3 separate regions of the Homo sapiens genome follow, and all the other regions are linked to region 2. The links are contacts of gene promoters, found by promoter capture Hi-C in blood cells and fetal thymus (Javierre and others, 2016). All regions are on one chromosome and are shown on one strand. Each heading gives the region's core, a stretch centred on a gene start or on the middle of the fragment in contact. The rest is flanking DNA. Distances are from core to core; before and after follow the strand shown. Region 1 has its middle 51 kb from the start of IGSF11-AS1. Region 2 holds the start of CD80 (CD80 molecule). Region 3 has its middle 69 kb from the start of IGSF11-AS1.

Region 1 (3,255 bases), core at 261-2,760, 670 kb before region 2:
TCAAGAACTAGGGAGAGCAGTGTACTGATCTAAATCATTGAAATATTCCTTGAAAATTTAAAATTACCAGAAATGCACCGTTTCTTTTTCTTCTGAAAGCACAAACATTAGAAAATACTATATAGCAATTAGGAGCCAGGTTGCCTATATTTGAATCCAGGTCCCAGGTCTTCCCATATAAACTTAGGCTAGTTACTTATCACTTGTACCTCGGTGTTATTATCTGCAAAATGGGATAGTGTTTGTACCTATCTCATACAGTGGTTGTGAGGATTAAAATGATTTAATAGATGTAAAATGCTTAGAGCAGCACCTGACACATAGTTTCCTGTTACTCGATACTATTCAGAAGAGGAGAGCTCCAAGCTGGATCCACCCATGAAGCTGCTGGAAACAAGTCTGCTTAATAACAGATATTGTAAATACTGGACCACAGGCCACACAGACCCACAGGAATGTATAATTAAGCAGGATTTAACTTAAAAAAATTCATTGCCGACATATACAATCCAAGAGAGATACAAATAAGCATTTCTGGCTTCTCTTGAAGATTCAAGAGACCTGGCCATCCTGGACCCAAGTCCTACTGACCACTCTTGGTGGGAGCTGAGTAGCTGCTAACCTCTTTAGGCAGGGCATAAATCTCCAAGTCACCATGCTCCCCATCTGGCCCAGTTCTCTCATTTACTTTACCTTCACAGGCATTTCAGGTTGTGATCTCTATACTAAAGGGATTGGGGCTCAGAAATCACAGCCTCGCCTCTACTTACATCATAATACAGGATCAGCACTGTGAAGTTGGAGGGGTGAACACACCTTGATCTCTGGATGACTGAGAGAGGGGAGGTGAAGAAAAGAGTTACAACCTGGTTGTATGTGAGACTCAGGTCTTCTCTAATCTCTCCAGTAGAACTTCCGTTTTTCTCCTTATAAAATTCAAATACATGACTTAAAAAGTAAACCAGTAACAGCTACAATTTATCTATACCATTTTATATACATTATCTAATGGTATCCTCAGACCTATGATGTAGCAATTATAATCTCCATGTTATATCCCCAGAGAGGCTAAACAGCTTGCCTCAAGTCAGTAGGAAGTGACGGAGCTGGGACTCAAGTGCAGGCCCAGGGTAGCAAAAGGCATCCTTCTACGTAGAATTTCCTCCAAATTCACCATGTCTTCAAAGACCTCTGTGTTCCCCTCAAAACTTCTCGCCTACGGGAATTTCCTCAAACGCATCCTCCCCTAGCAATAGCTCTGACTGTAGAGCTGAAGGTGGTAAGGGAACTAGTGTTTTACACAAATTGCAAATGCCCTAGGAAAGTGATGAGAAAGAATTAAACGGCTGTGAGACCCCCCCGAGTGTGCAGAAATTAAGAGGAGAAAAACTCAAAAAGCTTGACCGCATGGAAAAAATTATTCTAATAGTCTTATAAGTCAGAGATGGTAATTTTATTAAATAATTTTTTTAATGGGCAAAGAATGACTAGAAAGAATAAAGAACTCTTGTCTATGCCAGGCCAAATTTGAGGCAGTACCAAGACCTTTACTATTTATTGGCTATCTTAATGGAAGGACAGTATATGGCAACAGATGAGCAATGCCCTTGGCTCTACATCTTACAAGCTTTATGACCTTGAGCAAGGTACTTAACCCATGAAAGCCTGTTCCTTCATCTGTAAAATTAGCATAATACAGTACTAAAATTGAAAGTGTTGAGGATTCTATGGGATATACACAAAGTGTCCAGTATGCTGTCTAGCATACAGTAGGTGCTCTATAAATGCTGATGTTCTCCCACCCTCTTAATTATCCTCAGCGATTTGAAATTGATAGTAATCAGAAGATAAGTGTGTTATTTTGGAACAAAATGTGAGGAAAAGGGAAATAGGAGAAAGTATTTGGGTAGACAATAATTACCGAGGCTTCTCCTTTCTCTTAAACAAAAAAATGTCCCAAATTGCTATTTTATATGCAGTAGCACTCAAATAGTACTTCTGGCAAAAAGAGTTGAAATACTGAGTAGGTGTAAATGACATAGCTATTGCCTAGAAATTTAAAGCTTCTGAACTACTACGAATAATGGCAAATATCAAGTGTTTACTATCACCAGACACCATGATATTCATCTTATGTGCATTATTTCATTTAGTACTCACAATCTCAAAGATAACTATTATATTGTTTCTATTTTGTAGATGAAACTGAGCCTTAGAGAATTTTGTAGTTTGTCCAATGTAATGGACAACTGAAGCTCATTCATATATATATATATACACACACACATACATATATATATATATATAGGCATACAATCTTGTCCAAGCCTCAAATGCAAAACTGCTGCAAATCTGATAAACTGAGGGAGCAACTGATGGATGATAGAGAAATATGGCTTCAATGTAAGTTATAATAAGCTAAATTATCTATTCTAATCTGACCTCCTAAAATTAATCAGGTATCAACTGACCTCACTGTGTTAAATACATAGTAGGCACTATACTTATTGCTTTGTTTAATAAACTTGTCTCTATCATTAATGTCTTATGATTAAGTCAGAATTTTGTGCCTTGCCTTTACCTAAAATAGGGAAATAATACCTTCTTCACAAGGAAGCTGTGAGGAAAAGCTATAAATAGCTGTATACACATAGAATTTACAAGTCAACTTTTCTCTGAATTGCATTTATTGTCTCAGCATTTTTTCTGTGAAGTTGAATATCATCTTACTTAACACAAGTGATTTGTCCAAAAGAGGGCTATTTGAAGGCAAAACGACGAGGATCCCAGATCTTTCTTTTTAGACATTGGTTCAGTCAGACAGAAATATCTACTGAGAAAAGCAACTGACAGATTACTGAATAGTCTGGGAAAAATGTTTAACCACCTCAGTTTCTGAACTTGTAAAATATGAGTGATGATAGCGTCCATGTAGAAGTGTGATAAAATTAAATAAATTAGTACTTGAAATGCATTTTTTCATGTACTGCCATGTAATAAGCATAACAGATATTTTCACACAAAACCCTTCATAATTACTTAAGATTCTTCCAAACCACTGCATTAAGAATGTTATCTCCACAGCTTTCCCAAACAATACTGCATCTCTAATATAACATCAAATGCCCCCAAGGAACTGGCACAATCATTTGCCACATGAGTAAATGACTCTGATGTGGCCTTGCTTTGGGAATATTCTAATATTTGACTGCTACTTTTAACACTGAAGTTAAGAGACCAAATCATATATTTTCA
Region 2 (3,298 bases), core at 237-2,736:
AAGGCTTTCTACTTAATAGGTGGGGTGAAGATTTGGTTAGAAACAGGAGAGCTCTAAGGACCCTCCATATCTGTTAGCCAACCTGCAAAAGTTCAAATCCTCTTCTGAACATACCAAGAAACATAGAGCAGACAGTAAGGGTGTATTTTGTCCAAGGCAGGACCTAAGTTATGAAACAACTTCTTTCTTGACATATTAACATAAGAAAACAAGTATCTCAATTCTTTAAACCCTCTACTCAAATAATATATCATAAAGGGGTATGAGATCTCAATAACCAGAAAAGTCTATCCATAAAAAGGGAGGGAAAAAAAGACACTGCAGACGTTACTTATCAAAATTATGTACTCCAGGGCCAGGCGTGGTGGCTCACGCCTGTAATCCCAGCACTTTGGGAGGCTGAGGTGGGCGGATTACTTGAGGCCAGGAGTTCCAGACCAGCCTGGCCAACATGGCAAAACCCCATTTCTACCAAAAATACAAAAATTAGCCAGGTGTGGTGGTGGGTGCCTGTAATCCCAGCCACTTGGGAGGCTGAGGCACGAGAATTGCTTGAATCCAGGAGGTGGAGGCTGCAGTGAGCCAAGATGATTGCAACACTGCACTCCAGCCTAGGCGACAGAGTGAGACTCCATCTCAAAAAAAAAAAAAAAAAAAATTATGTACTGTCATGTGAGGTGGCTAGGGATTAATTTTTCCAGTAAATATGTCAAAATTGAGAAATGAAAATAAACACTGTGCTCCACTGTCACCCCTTCAGGCTGCTACCAGGACACAGCCCCGTGCTGCTCAGAGAATGCTTGAGTGTCCTCTTTGGAGACCACCCTAGAGCTAGAGTTCCAGCCACGCCATATTGTTTTATTAGCCATCATCCATTTTAGACAGGATTAGTTAAAAGAGACTTATTCACCAGAATTTGTTTTTCTTAAGATAGAATCTTGCTCTGTCACACAGGCTAGAGTGCAGTGGCGTGACCATAGCTCACCACAGTCTCAACCTCCCGAGCTCAAGCGATTTTCCCACTTTCACTAGAATTTTACTGGCTTGAGAAATTCAAATACGGCCCACAAAAACAATATTTGCTAGGATCTAGGATATTTTAAAATAATGGGCCACAATTCTCACTATGATGCTCCAAATATGTCGGGAAGCCACAGCCTCCTGTGGGAATGAGACCCTAAGGGTTCCTTTGAGGGCAAGCCTGGATCCAGGAGGTGGTAGCAGAGGTATTGTTTGTTTAAAAAGCAGTGAGGTTGCTGGTAACTAGTTCTACCAAGCTATCCCATAGTAAGATAATAGTAAATGTACTTACTTGCTGAAGAAAAATTCCACTTTTTCTTTAAATCCTTTGATTTCAGGGTAAGACTCCACTTCTGAGATGTTCTCTTCTTACAGTCTATAAAGCAATGACAAATCACTTTTTCTTTGGGTAATCTTCAGAGAGGCGACATTTCCCCTTCTAACTTCTGTTACTTTACAGAGGGTTTGAGTTCACTCAGTACTTGTCAGTGCCAGGAGTTGGACAGGGTGTTTGAAGAAGCGCCCTCTGCTGCCGTCTTCTTCTAGTTGCTTTTGTAGAGGCTGTGGCTGGGGCAAATCACACAGCAGCCTCCCTCACCACCGTGCATGGACTAACAAACATGAAACACCACGAGCACCAGGCGGCCTAGGGGAGGAGAAGAATGGTGCCCGAGAAGAGTGAGGGGCATCTGGCTAGCCTTGCTGTGTGATGGGAGGCCAGCTTCATGGGCTGGCTGTTTCTGTGCTGGTCTCAAGTTTTGTTTTAGCACCCAGAGTTACTCCTGAGTCCCTGCAGGAATAAGCTGTCAACCTCATATGTAGGGGACACTTTTGGGAGAGTGCTCAGCTCACAGGACCACCCAACTCTACTCCCACCTCTGAATCCCACCATCTTCAGAGAGTGGGCTCCTGCCAGCCACGCTGGACAGTGAATTCTGGTCACCCTAGCCACAGTTGAGTGCGCCTCTGGTGGGATGAGGAAGACTTTAGTCATGCCCATCACTCCCATTTCCAACTAGGTTGCCACCCACCCCTGTGTGTCCCTTTGTAGGATTCTGGAGCCCCTGTGAGTGAGCAGCTGACCCATGCTGGACCAGTGTACTTGTTTGCACAGGTGGAACCTGACAGCACCTTGCATGGGTTGCAGTGAGCCGAGATCACAACACTACAATCCAGCTTGGGTAACAGAGCAAGACTCCATCTCAAAAAAAAAAAAAAAAAAAAGACGCCATCCTTCCCACACCAGCCAGAAAGAGAGCAAACCGTGTGGGTGAGAAATACTGACTACAGCGGCGGCTTCCTTCATCTCAGCAACAAGTTTGTGGCAGAGCTTAGTGGATACCACCCTATTCACCTGAGATTTGGAATACTGAAGCTTTGGAAATCATGAAGGCAGAACTTGCTATGAAAGGACTCCACTGCACTGTCTCCTTCTGTATTGGCAGAAGGGGCCTAGTGAGCACCCTTCTTCACCTGTGTCTTGTTCTGGTCTCAGATGCATATTTTGAATAGTTGCAAGGAATATGGATGTGACAATTCCTGCCTTACCTCTAGTAGATCAACATTACATTTTCAAGTAAAGGGAACATAGATTGGAGGTAAGTTCATGTTTTCTATTTTCTTGAACATTTATTCAGATCAAAGAAATGTTTTCACTGATTTTAGCCACTTCTACTTGATACATTATTACAATGCACTGGAAGTGATTTTTTTTCCAGGTATTTAAAGTAATAGAAAGTTATAGATGTCAACTTAAAAGAGCAAAGAAATACAGAGTTTTAGAAATTTATTTTCTTTTTTTTTTTTTAGATGAAGTCTTTCTCTGCCGCCCAGGCTGGAGTGCAGTGGTGCAATCTTGGCTCACTGCAACCTCCGCCTCCTGGGTTCAAGCAATTCTTCTGCCTCAGCCTCCTGAGTAGCTGGGACTACAGGCGTGTGCCACCATGCCAGGCTAATTTTTAAATTTTTAGTAGAGATGGGGTTTCACCATATTGGCCAGGCTGGTCTCAAACTCCTGACCTTGTGATCCACCCTCCTCGGCCTCCCAAAGTGCTGGGATTACAGGCATGAGCCACTGCACCCAGCCGAGTTTTAGAAATTTCATGAGGGACTACATGAATACAAATTTTGACGATCACAGACACCCTCAAATTTTAAGAATCCCAGTGAAATCCTAACCTGCCTTGGAGAAACACACATTAAACAACTTTGCCATTAGCGCTTTGATGTGACTTAATCAAAGAGGCTGGAAGAAAGGAACACCAGGAAGGTACTTTAC
Region 3 (3,395 bases), core at 373-2,872, 690 kb before region 2:
AAGCAACTAAATTGTTTTTGATTTTCAGGCTCATAGGCATAAGGGACTTGGCTTATCTCAGGTGAGACTTTGGACCTGAATTTTGGGTTAATGCTGGAATGAGTTAAGACTTTGTGGGACTATTGGGAAGCATAATTGGTTTTGAAATGTGAGAAGGACATGAGATTTGGGGGTGGGGATCAAGGGCAGAACGATATGGGTTAGCTCTGTGTTCCCACCCAAATCTCATGTCAAATTAGAATCCCCAGTGTTGGGGGAGGGGCCTGCTGGGAGGTGATTGGATCATGGGGCTGGATTTCCTCCTTGTTGTTCTCATGATAGTGGGTGAGTTCTCATGAGATCTGATGGTTTAAAAGTATGACACTTCCCCCCTTTCTCTCCTGCTCTGCCATAGGAAGATGTGCCTTGCTTCCCCTTCATCTTCCACCATGATTGTAAGTTTCCTGAAACCTCCCAGTCATGCTTTCTATACAGCCTGTGGAACTGTGAGTCAATTAAACCTCCTTTCTTCATAAATTACCCAGTCTCAGGTATTTCTTTAAAACAGTGTGAGAATTGACTAATAGCGTGTTTCCTTGGGATCAGATGATCAGGAACATAGGGAGTCATCAGACTTACTGAGAGAATGAAAAGAGGAAATGTTTCACCTATCTCCACATAAAGTGGAAGGAAGAGAATGTTTCACACATAGTAGATAGAAGGATAGACTGGGTGGGTGGCCTGCATGACCAATAACACATCAGATTAATTTGTTTTATAATCAGCAACTTCTAGTATATACTAATCAACTTTGATCACTAGAAGTGTTGATAAAAATAGTCTTGAGTTCAATTGAGTTCCAATATTCAGATTCACAAACTTTTTTCAGCATCTACTATGTGCCATGTGTGAGGCCTGGAAAAACACAAATAATTATGAAATAGTTACCACCTTCAAGAAGCAAATAATTACAAAATGGTTCCCATCTTCAAGGAGCATAGTCACAGGACAAAATTAATTTGAATATGATATGTATATCCTATGATAAGTATACATTATCTTATATAATCACAGAAGATTTATTTTCCTGTCTTGGGCAATCAAAAAAAGCTTCAGGAAAAGATATCTCCTAGGAAGAGATTTTTCTATTCTTCTGTGGTGGAGATTCCTATTTTCATCATATCCTTTCACCATGAAAGTTAGGTTTCTAAGATAAGCAACATAACTTTCCTGAAGTTTTGTCTCAGAGCTATTAAAATAGAGATGTTGAAAGAGTCAACAAAGCTGTAATGTGAATGTGAAGATCTACGGAAAACTGATGTTAGATTGTGAACTCCTGACATAAAATAATTTGGAGGATGACTACTAGACATCATTTCAAGCTGTGGTGACCTTATAAACTTATTGCCCAAATTAAGACACTCTGAGAGTAATTGAGGGACACTATTAATAATTCCTAGGCTACAAATATAAACTGAGACTAACCTGAGTGAGCTGGTAATAGGGTCACTCTAGTGTAAGGCCATATTTCCAGTCATCTGGGAAATAGTAAAGACTTCTAACAACATACTTTGTAATGACCACTGGTCTTCCATATCACATTGAGGTTAAACTGCTTGTGAGGGATTTTTGAATAATATTCTGAAACATAAGATTAATTTTTGGCCTTGAAATTAAGCAACTTTTAAATGTTAAGTGCTATTGTCTGAATGTTTTTCAGAATTCATATGTTGAAACTTAATCCCCATGGTGGTGTTGTTATGAGGTGGGGACTTTAGGAAGATGATTAGTCATTCCGGCTCTCCTCTCATAAACAGATTAGTGCCTTATAGAAGATCTGGAGGGAAGTGGCTTAGGGTCTTTTTGCCTTTTTGGCCCTGCAAATATGTGAGGACACAGCAAGAAGGCCCTCACCAGACACTGAATGCTGGTGCCTTTATCTTGAACTGCCCAGCCTCCAGAACTGTAAGAAATAAATTTCTATTGTTTATAAATTACCCAGTCTGTCGTATTTTGTTATTAGCAGCACAAATGGACTAAAACGATGAGACTAAGATCACATCTGAATGGACCATTACTTAGAACAGGATGTGACCAGAGAGGAGGGTCCAGGAGAGCACTCAGCACAGCCACAGGGGACAGGCACTGGGGAAACTGAATCAGCCACTAATGCCAACAAAGCTTCCTGATCTACAGCACTCCTAAATCTTAGCTCATGTAAATACTCACCAGTGGCTGAGAGAGAAAGAGGAGGAGGAGCACAGGTAAAATCGGAGGCTATCTCAATTGGTAGGCAGAGACAATTGAAAAAGAATACAGGATAGGTAAGACTCAACAAGTCAGGTCAGGAATCCAATATCTAGATGGTATTAAAGCCGAGCCACAGCCTTGAATTCTGCCTGGAGAGACCTAAATCACAAATTCAATTAGTGGTACTGTGGCACTGGGGGAATGCAATAGTCTTAAATACAATGTTGACTTTGCACACATTTTAAAATATGTATTTATAACAATGAGACATTTCAAATAATAGTGATAGTGGCTAGTGTGCATTGAATAATGTTTCAGTGACTGTTCTAAGTGCTTCACATCTTAAATGCTGTAAACTATTATCCTCATTTTGCACTTGAGAGACTGAAGTATTGAGATATGAGCTGTGAAGTCTTGGAGGACACGGGAAGCAATGCATTTACCATTGTTGCAATTTTGTCACTTAAAAGGTAGACTTGGACAGACAAGAAATACAGCTCTTTTAAGGCAATGCCATTTACTTAAGAAGCACATAATGAAGGATTTGAGATTATCCTAGAGAGTGTCTCAAAGGGTAATATTTTTTAAATTTTTCCAACAATAGTGAGAATTTCCTGTTCACTTACACAATGCTAAGTTTGGTGCATTATTATAAATGCCCACTTTAATTAATACAATAGTACAATGTAGTTCACCTAGAATTAATGGATGAGGTAGGAAGCAAACTTGCTCCTATTTCTCAAAGAGGTGTGGAGAGAGACAGAAGTTAGGGAAAACTTTCTAATAAAAAATCAGCTGTTGAAATCAAAGAAGCTTTAGCATGAACCAAATTGCTAAGAACCAATGGCAAATTAGAAGAGGTTAACTAGGTGCTGGGATCCTAAAAAGAGATCTACCATCCAGAAACTCAGACTGGAATTTGATAACCTTCTGAGAAACATCAGATTATTGTTAAAGCACGTTCCAATAAACTAGAGCTCCTATTTGGCTCAGGATGAATGTTTTTAATTTTGAATACTGCTCTGAATTGCTTATCATGAAAATGTTTAATAATGCAATGTGGCTACAATGTAGGAAGCATTGTAAAGAGAGGCAGAAGGTGAATAATTGGGTAAAACAATCTCAATTTAAAATGAGCAGGGCAGCTGGTTCATAAAAGAAATACT

What was found. The method cuts DNA at HindIII sites, captures the fragments that hold promoters and counts their contacts. A CHiCAGO score of 5 or more calls a contact.
Region 1: a fragment that was not itself captured here is called in contact with the fragment with the promoter of CD80 in region 2 in 1 of 17 cell types (total B cells); the score reaches 6.6 in total B cells.
Region 3: a fragment that was not itself captured here is called in contact with the fragment with the promoter of CD80 in region 2 in 1 of 17 cell types (total B cells); the score reaches 5.5 in total B cells.

What each region holds. Positions count from the first base shown.
Region 1 is chr3:118,890,558-118,893,812 of GRCh38, forward strand. No RefSeq gene overlaps it. Among named protein-coding and RNA genes, the nearest start is that of IGSF11-AS1, 51 kb to the right of the region's middle. The HindIII fragment of the contact is 229 bases long and covers 1,397-1,625 here.
Region 2 is chr3:119,558,128-119,561,425 of GRCh38, forward strand. CD80 (CD80 molecule) reads right to left here and starts at 1,487. Exons shown (of 7, transcript NM_005191.4): 1 at 1,313-1,487. It overlaps LOC107986118 (a long non-coding RNA gene), which reads left to right and starts at 2,303. Exons shown (of 2, transcript XR_001740861.2): 1 at 2,303-2,618. RefSeq lists a silencer at 1-89 and enhancers at 1-89, 451-610, 881-940, 1,711-1,760. The HindIII fragment of the contact is 26,007 bases long and covers 1-2,393 here.
Region 3 is chr3:118,871,939-118,875,333 of GRCh38, forward strand. No RefSeq gene overlaps it. Among named protein-coding and RNA genes, the nearest start is that of IGSF11-AS1, 69 kb to the right of the region's middle. The HindIII fragment of the contact is 1,071 bases long and covers 1,088-2,158 here.